Linked DNA regions of Homo sapiens: region 1 is linked to region 2. Evidence: promoter capture Hi-C in human tissues and cell types (Jung and others, 2019). All regions are on one chromosome and are shown on one strand. The core of a region is centred on a gene start or on the middle of the fragment in contact, and the rest is flanking DNA. Distances in the headings are between cores, read along the strand shown. Region 1 overlaps GALNT13 (polypeptide N-acetylgalactosaminyltransferase 13). Region 2 holds the start of GALNT13 (polypeptide N-acetylgalactosaminyltransferase 13).

Region 1 (5,807 bases), core at 1,326-3,825, 520 kb before region 2:
TGGTGATTGACTTCCAGTGCAGCAAGCAGCAGGACACAGACAGAACCCCTGTGTTTCAGTAACATCTTCATTCTAGCCCCACTTTTTTTCATTCTTTACATTTCTTCAAACATCCCACGTTCATTCATAATTCAACAATTCAAGGCTTTATACTTCTTTTTTTCTGTCTGTAATGGTGTTACCCTGCAACTTTCATGAGTTGTTCTTTACTTGGTCCAAGTCTTTGCTGAAAATTTACTTCTTCAGGTTTATTCTGACCTTCCTATCAAAATTGATCACTTTCTCTCATCTTCCTAGGTCTGTCTTTATCCCTCTATCGTGCTTAATTTTTTTCCATGGCACTTATTACTATCTGATATCATATTTCAGATCACTTTGCTCACTGCCTTCTCAACAAAAACTTTGGATGATGAGTTATCTTTTTTGAAGGATAAGGTATCCTACCTGATAATATCTTACAAGATATTGTGACTACTAAATAAATAATGCCTGGAAAAGGTTTAGTACAATGACTGGAATATAATAATTGCTTAATACACATCATATATTGCATTGGATAGCTGTTGTTTTGCACGCCTGACATCCATTCTGCCCTCTGGTAAAAGCACTTGAGTTTCTCTGGGAAACCACTCCCACTTCACTTTCAGCTTGGATGGGGCTGGTTTCATTGCCTTCCCCACTCTTCCAGTTCCATCTGTGAGCACAGACTAAAGGCACATCACCAGAAAATCTAGTTAATATGCAATTTGATTCAGTTGGTCTGGAGTGGGGGCCTTAGGGTCCATATTTCTAACAAGCTCCAAGGGATCCTGCTTTTGCTCAGTCCAGATTTTGATTAGCACCCAAAATAACTAGAGCATTCTATTTCAATTCCTTACATATAACCCAGATAACAATGACTGACTCAGGAATGGGCAAATAAACCAGTCAGCCTAATAAAAGCATACCCTTGAGAATACACTAGGGCTATTAGAAAGTTGAAACTCTATTTCCTCTGGAACTGGGTAGCTGTATAGATGAGTTAAGCCTGGAGTTTTTGGGGCTACCATACAACAAAGGCCTATGAAAGTGACACCAATATAGAAGTAAGATAAATCCACATATGGAAAGATATAGAGTGTGAGCGTAAAAGAGAAGACTATCTAAAGATAGACAGCAGAGGCCAAGCCAAGATTAAGGTAACAGATATTTACTGTGGTCAAGCTCTGTACAAGGGACTTTTCTAGGCACTTGGGATATATCTGTGAACAAAACAAAATTATCTTCCTCCATGGAGTTTATATTCTACTGGAGAAAGACCTAAATAAACAGTAAATACATTAGAAGGTGACACACGCTGTGGCAAAAATTTATAAGTTTTTAAGGCAAGTCTTTCAATGGAACTTGCAAAAGCCATGTAAAGGCTTTGACAATGAAATAAAGATGCATAATGAGTACCAACAAAAGAGTATTTTAATTAATTCCAGGTTTGCAGGTTTCATTAATAGGTAAATGATAAAATTTATGGGCTCCTATTTTTTTTAAATAAGCTGTCTTTTCATGGAATCCAGCTAAATGTCCATCAATGATAGACTAGATAAAGCAAATGTGGTATATATACACCATGGAATACTATGCAGCCATAAAAAAGAACGAGATCATGTCCTTTGCAGGGACATGGATGGAGCTGGAAGCCATTATCCTTAGCAAACTAATACAGGAACAGAAAACCACATACCACGTGCTCTCACTTATAAGTGGGAGTTAACTCATGAGGACATGTGGACACATAGAGGGGAACAATACACACTGTAGTCTATTGGAGGATGGAGGGTGGGAGGAGAAAGAGTATCAGGAAAAATAACTAATGGGTACTAGGGTTAATACCCAGGTGATAAAATAATCTGTACAACAAACCTCCTTGACACAAGTTTACTCATGTAACAAATCTGTACATGCACCCTGAATTTAAGTATAAAAAAATCTGTCTTTTATTCATAGTAAGTCTATTGCATTATAGTATTAAATTCACTCTTTAGAGAAATCATGTTTTAAATTTTAAATAGATATTAGATGGAAGATCATAATGACACTGGCTCAACTGTCCCATAGAACTGATATTTATGATTTTTTTATATAAACATAGAAATTCACCCTCTCAGTCTTAAAACTTGAGAAAATTGTATTTGTCTTATCCAAGTTCCTTTCTTAGGAAATCAACTATCAGGCCACCCAGACATTTTGAAGGAACTGAAACTTACCAGATCACTGCATCTGGACAGTGAGACACCAGACCCCCTCACCCATCATGACTGCCTAAACCAACCAACTGCTTCCTGTTGACCAGCTCCTCTTTAATACCCCTCACTAATTCCTGTTTTCCCTACACATAATTACATTTTTTTTGCTGCTATATAAACCTCTAATTTTAGTCAATTGAGGATATGGATTTGAGACTGCTCTCTTGTCTCCCTGGTTGCAGCACCCAGTTAAAGCCTTCTTCCCTGGCAATACTCATTGTCTCAGGGATTGGACTTCTGTGAGGCAAGCAATGGGCCTTAGACCAAACCCCTGGCATTTCAATGATAATAATTATTTCAGTTAAATTCTTCCCCTAATAGATGTCTAGTAAGTCTAATAGTTCTGTCTCTCTAAAATCAAAGTACCTGAAGAAAGAATACCCTAATGCATGCCAAAGCTTACAATTTCATGCACAAGAATACATATTGCAGCATAACTTAAAAGGGAAATTATTTTTATTCAATAAACAATGCTTAAGTGGCCACTGTGGCTCATGCCTATAATCCCAGCAATTTTGGAGGCCGAGGTGGGCAGATCACTTGAGGCCAGGAGTTCAACACCAGCGTGGCCAAGATGGTGATACCCTGTCTCTACTAAAAACACCAAAAAATTAGCTGGCCAGTTGTGGTGGGTGCCTGTAATCCCAGCTACTTGGGAGGCTGAGGCAGGAGTATCACTTGAACCCGGGAGGTGGAGGTTGCAGTGAGCCGAGATGGCACCACTGTTCTCCAGCCTGGGTGACAGAGCGAGACCACATCTCAAAAAACCACCCCCCCAAAAACAAAAACAAAACAAAACAAAAAGAATGCTTAAGCAAATCAAAGTTATATCTGGTTGACAAAATACAACTCTCGTATTAAAATAATTATGTCTATGTAAGAATATGGAAAAATGTTAAGCCACATGAATGTTTATTATACAGCTATTGTAATTAAAATATATGAAATAATAAAAAATTGAGATAAAGCTCCTTTTTACCTTTAACAGTCAAAACTATGCAGTTGATTATAAAGTTTGTTATGTATGTCATATTAATGATATATATTCACATTACAGGAGTAGACCAGTATATACAGTTTAAGCTAATAATTTTTTTGTGATATTTTCTAAATTCCAAATAGAAAGTGGACTTTATTTTGTTATTTACTCTCAGTAATTGTAATTATGAACTTCATGAATAAGAATCTGCATTTTTCTCCTTTTTAAAATAATATAATAATAAGCCATTGTTAATCCAGCTAGCAATTATTGTATTCTATTGCATCTAAATACCAAATTGTAAATGGTATTGGGAAAGCTGGAGATCCACATGCAAAAGAAGAAATTAGATCTTATTCTTATCTTATACCAAATATAAAAATCAAATCAAAATGGATTAAAATTTTAAATTTAAGATCTGAAACTGTAAAAGTACTAAAACACAGGAGAAATAGTCCATATTTGTCTGGACAAAAATTGTTTGATTTGACTGTAAATGCACAAGCAACAAAAGCAAAAATGGACAAGTTTGATGGTTTCCAACTAAAAAGCTTCTGCACAGCAAAGGAAACAATTAACAAAGTGAAGAGAAAGCCTACAAATGTAAGCCATGGATCTGATAAGGGATTAAAATCTGAAATACATGAGGAACTCAACTCAAAAACAAGAGAACACCTGATTAAAAATGGGCAAAGGTCGTGAACAAACATTTCTCAAAAGAAGACATTCAAATGGCCCATAAACACATGAAATAAATGCTTACATCACTAATCATTAGGAAAGTGCAAATTAAAGCCACAATAAGGTATCGTCTCGCACCTGTTAGAGTGACTTTTATCAGAAATATAAAAGACACATGTTGGAGAGGATGTGGAGAAATGGGAATTCTTAGATATTGTTGATGGAAATATAAATTAGTACAGCCATTATAAAAGTGGTATGGAGCTTCCTTGTAAAACTAAAAATAGAACTACCACATGACACTGTAATTCCTCTTCTGAGTTTATATAAAGGAAATGAAATCAATATGTCAAAGGGATATCTGCACTCGCTTGTTCACTGCAGCATTATTCACAATAGCCAAGAAATGGGATCAACCTAAATGTATATCAACAGATGAACAGATAAAGAGAGTGTTGTATTCTATGCAATGAAGCACTATTTAGCCTTAAAAAGGAAGAAAATCCCATCATTTTGACAACATGAATGAAGCTGAAGGACATTATGCTAAGTGAAATAAACCAGGCACAGAAAAACAAATACCACATGACCTCACTTATGTGTAGATTCTAATACAGTTGTACTCACAGAAGTAGAGAATAGAATGATGGTTACCACAGGCTACAGGCATGAGGAGGGAGGAATGAGGAGTTATTAATCAAAGACTATAAAATTTCAGATAGGAGAAACACGTTTTGGGATCTATTGCTCATCAGGTGACTATAGTCAACAACGATGCATTGTGTATTTTCAAATAACTAGGACATTATCACTAAAAATAATAGGTAAGCAAGGTTATGGCTATGTTAATTAGCTTGATTTATTTATTCCATACTGTTTGTGTCTGTATGTGTAATCTCAAAACATCACATTGTGCCTTATGATTACTGTTAAAACTTGTCAATTAAAAATATGAATAAGCCTGTAAGTACATAAATGATACTGTATTGTTTCAGAGGTTTAGGCGATTTCTTGGAATTATCATTGTTGTTTTTAAATTTAAAACTATTCCCTTAATCTACCTTTTTATCTATTCCCTATGTCCATACAAATTACCCAGGCTCATAAGTTCTCATTAGCATGTCAGTGGACAGAACTACATTAACTGGCTGATTGACTATTCCAACTAATAATACATAGTGATTATGTGTTGAATTTATCATTTACTATTATTACCACAATTTTATTTTAATGGAGTAAAAATGAGATAATGAATTTTACAAAATCATAGCTTCTGCACAGAGCTGTCACACAGGAAGAGGATTATCAGACAACTTTCAATTTATTTAACTCTAATATCCACAGTCAAAAGTTACAGCAGGTCTTGAGGCTGAGTTTTCTAGGCAATTACCTCAAACTTCAGATCAGTGTGACAATAAAGATCTCATATTCAAATGCTTGGTCCAAGATCATTGAGAATATGGGAAATAAGAAAAGTGAGTATTTGCAGTAGTCTTTTAAAATAAAAGAACAATTTGATATCCATTGAGACAAACACAGACTGAACAGTCTGCAGGCTATCAAAATTTTATCTAGAATTAACTCAGTCTAATATATAGCTGTATATTTCAGCATTATCTTGACCCCTATCAAGTCTAAATGAGGATTTGGAATTATGATATTGGTTTTCATTTGAAACTGGTCCAATTGTCCCACAGAACTGATGCTTATCATTTCTTTTGAATAAGCATAAAAACTGACCCTCCCAGTCTTGAAACTTGAGAAAGTTATATTTGTCTTATCTGAGTACTTTCTCAGGAAACCAACCATCAGGCCACCCAGATAGTATCAAGGAACTGAAACTTACCAGATCACCACATATGGACAAT
Region 2 (6,274 bases), core at 682-3,181:
GAGACACAGAAAAAGAGAGAGAGAGAAAGAGAGAGAGACGGACTGAGACTCTGAGGAAAGGCAGCTTTCACATAAAGCTGAAAATATTCAAGGATACCAGAAATTTCAAGGGGGCTTTGGCAGCCAAGTGCCTTTAGCCTTGCGAATAAAACCTCTATGTTGTTATGTTGTTTCAGGGAAGGCTGACCACGATCTCTCCAAGGAAACCGCTTTCCTAAGCAATGAATGCATGGTAGTTTAAGGCAGGCATACCTCAGTCCCCAAAGCTCCTCTCCTCTGCTAGCAACACCTTTGCCTGAAGAAAGCTCCCACCCTTTCGAGGTTAGTTTCCCTGAACCCCAAAGCATCTATGTTTGCCTGCTCACTGTCCGTTCTTCTGCAGCTGGCTATAAAGGTTGGGGAGGCAGACTCTCCTCCTGGAAATTCAACTAACCATAGTCAAAGAATCGGGTATGCGGGAGGGGCTTGCGCAGCTTTCGCTGTCCAGAGTAGCAGCCTCAGTGCGCTCAGGTTCGCAGCAGCGCAGCGCCCTCGGACCCGGCAAGGGGAGCCTGCTGCGGTGCCCTCCACTCTAACCCCTTGCGCCCCTCCTTCAGGTCCACGACAGCCTGGACAAGGGCAGGCTGTCTCCTCCGCGTCCCCACTGACCCCGCAGGAAAATCTCTGCACCTGGAGATACCCATTAGATGCGCCAGGGCTTGCTCCCCTAACCAAGGCGCTTCGGGATCGCGGGGCTGGTGTTCGGGAAGACGGGGCAGAGAGATGACAGAGGGAGACAGAGATAAGCTGCGAGAAGCAGACACAGAAAGAGAACAAATGTTGCAAAACGGAGAGACAAAAGGAAAGACAGATTAACAGGGACACAGATATCCCAAGAAAGAAAGAGGGAAACAGAATAAGAGAAAAAAACAGATACATGGCCGGAGAGTGTGGACTGAGGGGACCAAGGCTCAGAAAGAGAAACAGAGGCAGAGACACACACGGCGAGAATGAGAGGCAAGAGGACTCTGAAAAAGCGAGGCAAAGGGGGCACTATACGAAGGCAACCGTCGAGGAAGACACCCAAGACCCAGGGAGCGCCTGGTGTCGGGTCGAGTAGAAACGCCCGCAACGCAGCCGGGGCTGCCTGCAGCTGGTGCGAGAAAGTTGTCTGGGCTTGGAGGCCGAGCCACCCCCGCGGAGGAACGTCACCAGAACGCAGAGGGGGCCAGAGCCGCTCCCCCCCCCCCCCCCGCCACCAACAACTCACCGGGGTAGCCAGAAAAGCAGAGCAGAAGGTGGGCGGCGGCAGAAAGTTCCGCGCCACGCGGTCCTCCCGCAACACCTGCAGCCCCGCAAGCGAGCGCACTCGGAGCTCCCGGGAGGCCGCGTCGCCAGGTCCGCCCGCGCCCCTGCCTTTGCCCTGGGACCGGCCCGGGGCGCTCGGCTCCGCGCCCCGGCACTCGCCGCGGGACTTTGCGGCACCTAGCCCCGGCACTCTGGCAGCCCAGAGGGAGCTCGTCCCAGACAATCAAGAGGAAAAGAGGGGAAGCGAGAAAGAGACGGAGACCTGCTATCCTGGCCAACGATCCCGCGAAGAGGGAACGGCGGTCCACACACGGGATTCAGCCTCAGATCAAGCCCAGCAGGCGCCGGCCGGCCGCGCCGAGTGCGGGGCTCGCCGAGTCCGCGCTCACCTGGAACCCGCGCCGGCCCGCGAGCGCCGCGCGCAGCCCCGGCTCCCGCCCGCGCCTCTCTCTTCACACTTGCCCGCGAGCAGAGGGAGCCGGCTCCAGCCTCGGCCAGCCCCAGAGAGGGGCCTTCATAGCGCAGCGGCGGGCTGAAGGGCTCCTCGAGCGCGGCCAGAGCGGACGCTGAGGCCGAGGAGGCGCCCAGAGCGAGCGAGGGCTGCTAGCACGTTGTCACCTCAGCAGAGCCGCCGCCGCCTGGTCACTTCTCCCCGGCCCCCGCCCCCCTCCCACCCCAGCCCGCCGCCTCCCGGTCCCTCCTCCTCGCGTGGTCCCTCCTCCTCTCGTAGCCCCAGCCTGGAGGCCTCTCACTGGGCTAGTATCATTTACGTAACCAGCACCCCCAGCCCTCCTCCCTCCCTGCTCCCGCTCCTCCCCGGGCTGGGGCGGTGCGCACCGAGCGCGCTCCAGCTGCTTCTGGAGCTGGCGCTTCTGCGATGTGCGCAAGTCCCGCGATACTTGGCAGGCACGGCCCCCAAGAGCAACCCTGGGGTCAGCTCCTCTCGCCGGAGGGCGCCTCGCGACCCCTGGCCGCTTTGGGGCCCCACAACGCCAAAGCCGGCCTGCGTGCACCGCGTTCGCCCAATGCACCAGGGAGCCTCTTAGAGGGGAGCTGGAGGATCAGAGACTGCCCTCGGGGAAAGCGCCGGCAACCCCACCCTTGCCGTCGGCTCTCCAGCCGAGAGATGCTGCGGGGTACTTGACGCTTCGGCGCCCTCCGCAGAAAGGACGGAGGTTGGCCTCTTGTTGGTTACAGTATCTACACCCTGGCAGGATCCTAGTGTTCTGGTTGGCGGTGACTACTGCCACCGAACGCACTGTAAGAGTACTGGAAACACAGAGCGCTTCCTTGTGGCTCTCAAATTTTTATGAAGAGGTAAAGAAAAAAGTGGGGCTTTGAATTCCTTTCTCAGGCAAGTAGGTATGATATTAAACACACACCCACTCCGAAGTACCTGGACGTATGAATGTCTCAGTTAATGTGTTGTACCAATACCCCCATGGTACTGAGTTTAAATACATGTAAAGATTTTAGAACAGTGCCTGGCACAAGGCAGAAACCTAAGACGCAGACATTATTAGCGTCTCAAAGACTTGGGACCTGTCCCCCACTGCCATGGGAGAGGAACTTTTCTAGGAAATTGGGATTGCCGAGTTCAAGTGCCTGCTTGGCAATTTATTCACTGTGGCTCTTGGCTAGTTTTGGCCCTTCGGGTGTCAGTTGTCTTGTTTGTAATAAGGGCTGACAGGGGTCCTTGCTTCTCACAGTGTCACTTCACACATCTTATAGGATGTTTTTGGCAGAATTGGGGGAGGATATAACGACTACATAAAAATATTAAACAGCCACGTTTGACAAACATATGATACTATTAATCATAATCTAGTATGTCAATGCCATTCTTGATTATACTCATGAAAGGCAATTTCCAGAGATATTATCTTTATATCTTTTCGTGAGTCAAGTATCATTTAAATTTCTATGTTAATAACTGTATTAATGTCTCCTCCTACATTGTCCATCCTGCCCTACCGTCAATTATGGAGCATTTACCAGAGATGCTTCTGTGCATGTGTGAGTACACAGGGTCCCACTCATAACACTCTGGAATGTCTCTCTACTGCTCTCTCTAGTGAATTCCAGTCCTAACATCAGGTCACTCACCTCTACATGGCATACTGAGAAAAACTGTGGACCAGGTAAAAGATTGGGGTTCTGATGCTGATACAGCTACTTACTAGTCCTATGTTTTTCAAAGACAAATAAGCCCCCATTCTTACATGTTTCATCTCTTAAAAAAAGGCGCAATTCCATTTTGCAGTCTTTGTGATAATATTTAACTTAGGCAGAATCATAAACTTGGTAAAATTTATTTGGGTAATTGGATATTTACGTAGTCCCAAAGTATCACCCTAGAAAGTATTGGCTTTTGGTGCATAACACACCATTCCAAAACTTATTAGCCCCAACCAATAAACATCTGTAATTTCTCAAAGCTCTGTGGGTTGTCAGGTTGGTTTCTGCCCTGGCTAGCTCAGTTTGGTTTAGAGATCTAGGATGGCTTCACTCACTTGTCTGGTGTGGCATACTTATTAGTCTTGAGGGTGTGGGACTCAGCTGCAATGTTTTGTCTTTTGTTTAATCTAGCCCATCATCCTTCAATAGGCTAGCAGTAGTCGTAGTTGCAGGGCTCCAAAAAGCAACAAGGGAGTGCAAGCTCCAATGTGAAGTACTCTGAGATTCTGTGGACGTACATTTGCTGGTGTCTCATTAGCCATGGAAGTTACATGGCCCAAACATAGATAATATAGTCCATGTCTTGATGGGAGAAACTATAATGCCATATTTCAAGGAGAATGCATACACAAAAATAACTTGAGGCTGTTTTTATAATATACTATAGATCCTTAATTACAAACGAATAATAAATTACATGTAGTGGATAAATCTGGTAAACATCACCTTAACCAACTGACCAAGGTTAAAGTCACCAATAATGGGACCAAGTGATATCATGAGCCTCATGATATGATGCACTGAGAAGTACATAACATTATTGATTTAGGATTCCAGATTAAAAAATGCATAATTGAATGCAATCACGAGAAAGCAAAGAAAGCCTTAAATTAAGGAAAATTCTACACAATATCTTGCCTATACTTTTCAAAAATGTCACTGTGATGAAAGTCAAAGAAAAGCTGAGGAAATATTCCAGACTAATGGAGATTTAAAAACCATGACTACTAAATGCAATGTGTAATCCAGAATTGGAGAGCAAACTGGGAATAATATCTATTAATATAAAGAGCATTACTGAGACAATCTAATTCAAAATATTAATAAAAACTATAATATCTAAACTGTATGACTTTTATTTATAATCAAATTAGTTTTATATCAATATTAAGTGTCCTAATTTAATTGTATTGTGATCATATATAAGAAAGCCCTGGATCTTTAAAAAATATAATAAAATATTTTGCAGTAAAAAGAACATAGAGGTTGTAAGGTCCAGAAATACCTATAGAGAGAATGATGATGCAAATGTGGCAACCTTTTATAACACCATTGGTAAATTTTGGTGAGGGGTATGTGTTAATTCTTTGTAGTAATTTTGCAATATTTCTTGAAGTTTAAATACTTTTTTAAAAATCAGGTAGTTATCATTATTTACCTCATAAGAATAATAACCACAATAATTTATCTGAATGAGTGTTGAAAGTTATTAAAAAGTCATATTTTTTCAAACAGAAAGTTTGGCATTTATCTTTAATCAAAGTGGAGCTATTGCAAGTATTTGCTTAGATAAATGGTAAGACCAATACTGTACAATTCTTGGCTATAAGGCCAATACAAGGGCTACCAGGCCAAGAATGTCTATTGGCCAATATAAGGCCAAATGTATAGGGCCTTAGCTACAGAGTATACAAAAGACAGGGATATGAGTTTAGCAGCTACAATTGTCCATTATGTGATTAACCAAGGCGCTCATTCTAAAGGGAAATAAAGGGTGAGATAGTTATGTCTTGCTGAAATTAAATTACCAGGTTTTGGCAAATTATTAGGAATGATGGATAAAGGAAAATGTATTATATAACTTTAAGAGATTAAGATTGGATGAGTAGGATGATGGAGATGCCATTATTAAGGGACACTGAAAGCAATAACTTTATTTTCTAAAATGAAATCTAATAATATTTTCTTCTAATTATAACATTTAAGTGGCTTCTCATTGATTTTAAGAAATTGTCTAAAATCTCTAACATGCCCTATAAGAACCTTTATACTCTGGGGCTCTGCTTACCTCCTTTGTACTTACAATGAGCTAAGCACTGCAATAGGTTTTGAAGACAAAGAGGAAAGTAAAGACAGCCTGCACAAAACTTAGGGTTCAGTCATACATCCCATGAATATACATTGAGCACTTACAGAATGACAGTTATTTACTAGGAACTGGGAATACAGCAGTGAGCTAAGGCTAATGCTCACTGCTATATTCCCAGTGCCTACCAGTGAGAAGAAGAAAATGCCTAGCACTGTCTAGCAGTGAGAAAAAAGATATAGATCCTGCCTTCATGAATACTACATTTTGCTGAGGTATGTCCTAACCCAAAGGTCTGCAACCCCCGAACCACAGACCTATGGCAGTCCATGGCCTGTTAGGAACTGGGCCACACAGAAGGATATGAGGGATGGGTGAGCCAGTGAAGCTTCATCTGTATTTATAGCCACTCCTCATTGCTCACATTACTGCCTGAGCTCCACCTCCTGTAAGATCAGCAGCAGCATTAGATTCTCTTAGGAGTGTGAACCCTATTGTGAACTGCACATGTGAGGGAACTAGGTTGTGCTCCTTATGAGAATCTAATGCCTGATGATCTGTCACTATCTCCCATCACCCCCAGATGGGACCATCTAGTTGCAGGAATACAAGCCGAGGGCTCCCACTGATTCTACATTATGGTGAGTTAGATAATTATTTCATAATATATTTCAATGTAATAATAATAGAAATAAAGTACACAATAAACGTCATGTGCTTAAA

Evidence for each region. The method cuts DNA at HindIII sites, captures the fragments that hold promoters and counts their contacts. A contact is called where the count stands out against the background at its distance.
Region 1: a fragment that was not itself captured here is called in contact with the fragment with the promoter of GALNT13 in region 2 in 2 of the 25 tissues and cell types used here (dorsolateral prefrontal cortex and thymus).

The regions. Positions count from the first base shown.
Region 1 is chr2:154,386,387-154,392,193 of GRCh38, reverse strand. The region is part of intron 9 of GALNT13 (polypeptide N-acetylgalactosaminyltransferase 13); the gene reads right to left. Among named protein-coding and RNA genes, the nearest start is that of GALNT13-AS1, 68 kb to the left of the region's middle. The HindIII fragment of the contact is 5,965 bases long and covers 1-5,557 here.
Region 2 is chr2:153,867,579-153,873,852 of GRCh38, reverse strand. It overlaps GALNT13 (polypeptide N-acetylgalactosaminyltransferase 13), which reads right to left and starts at 1,931. Exons shown (of 13, transcript NM_052917.4): 1 at 1,550-1,931. The HindIII fragment of the contact is 9,874 bases long and covers 1-6,274 here.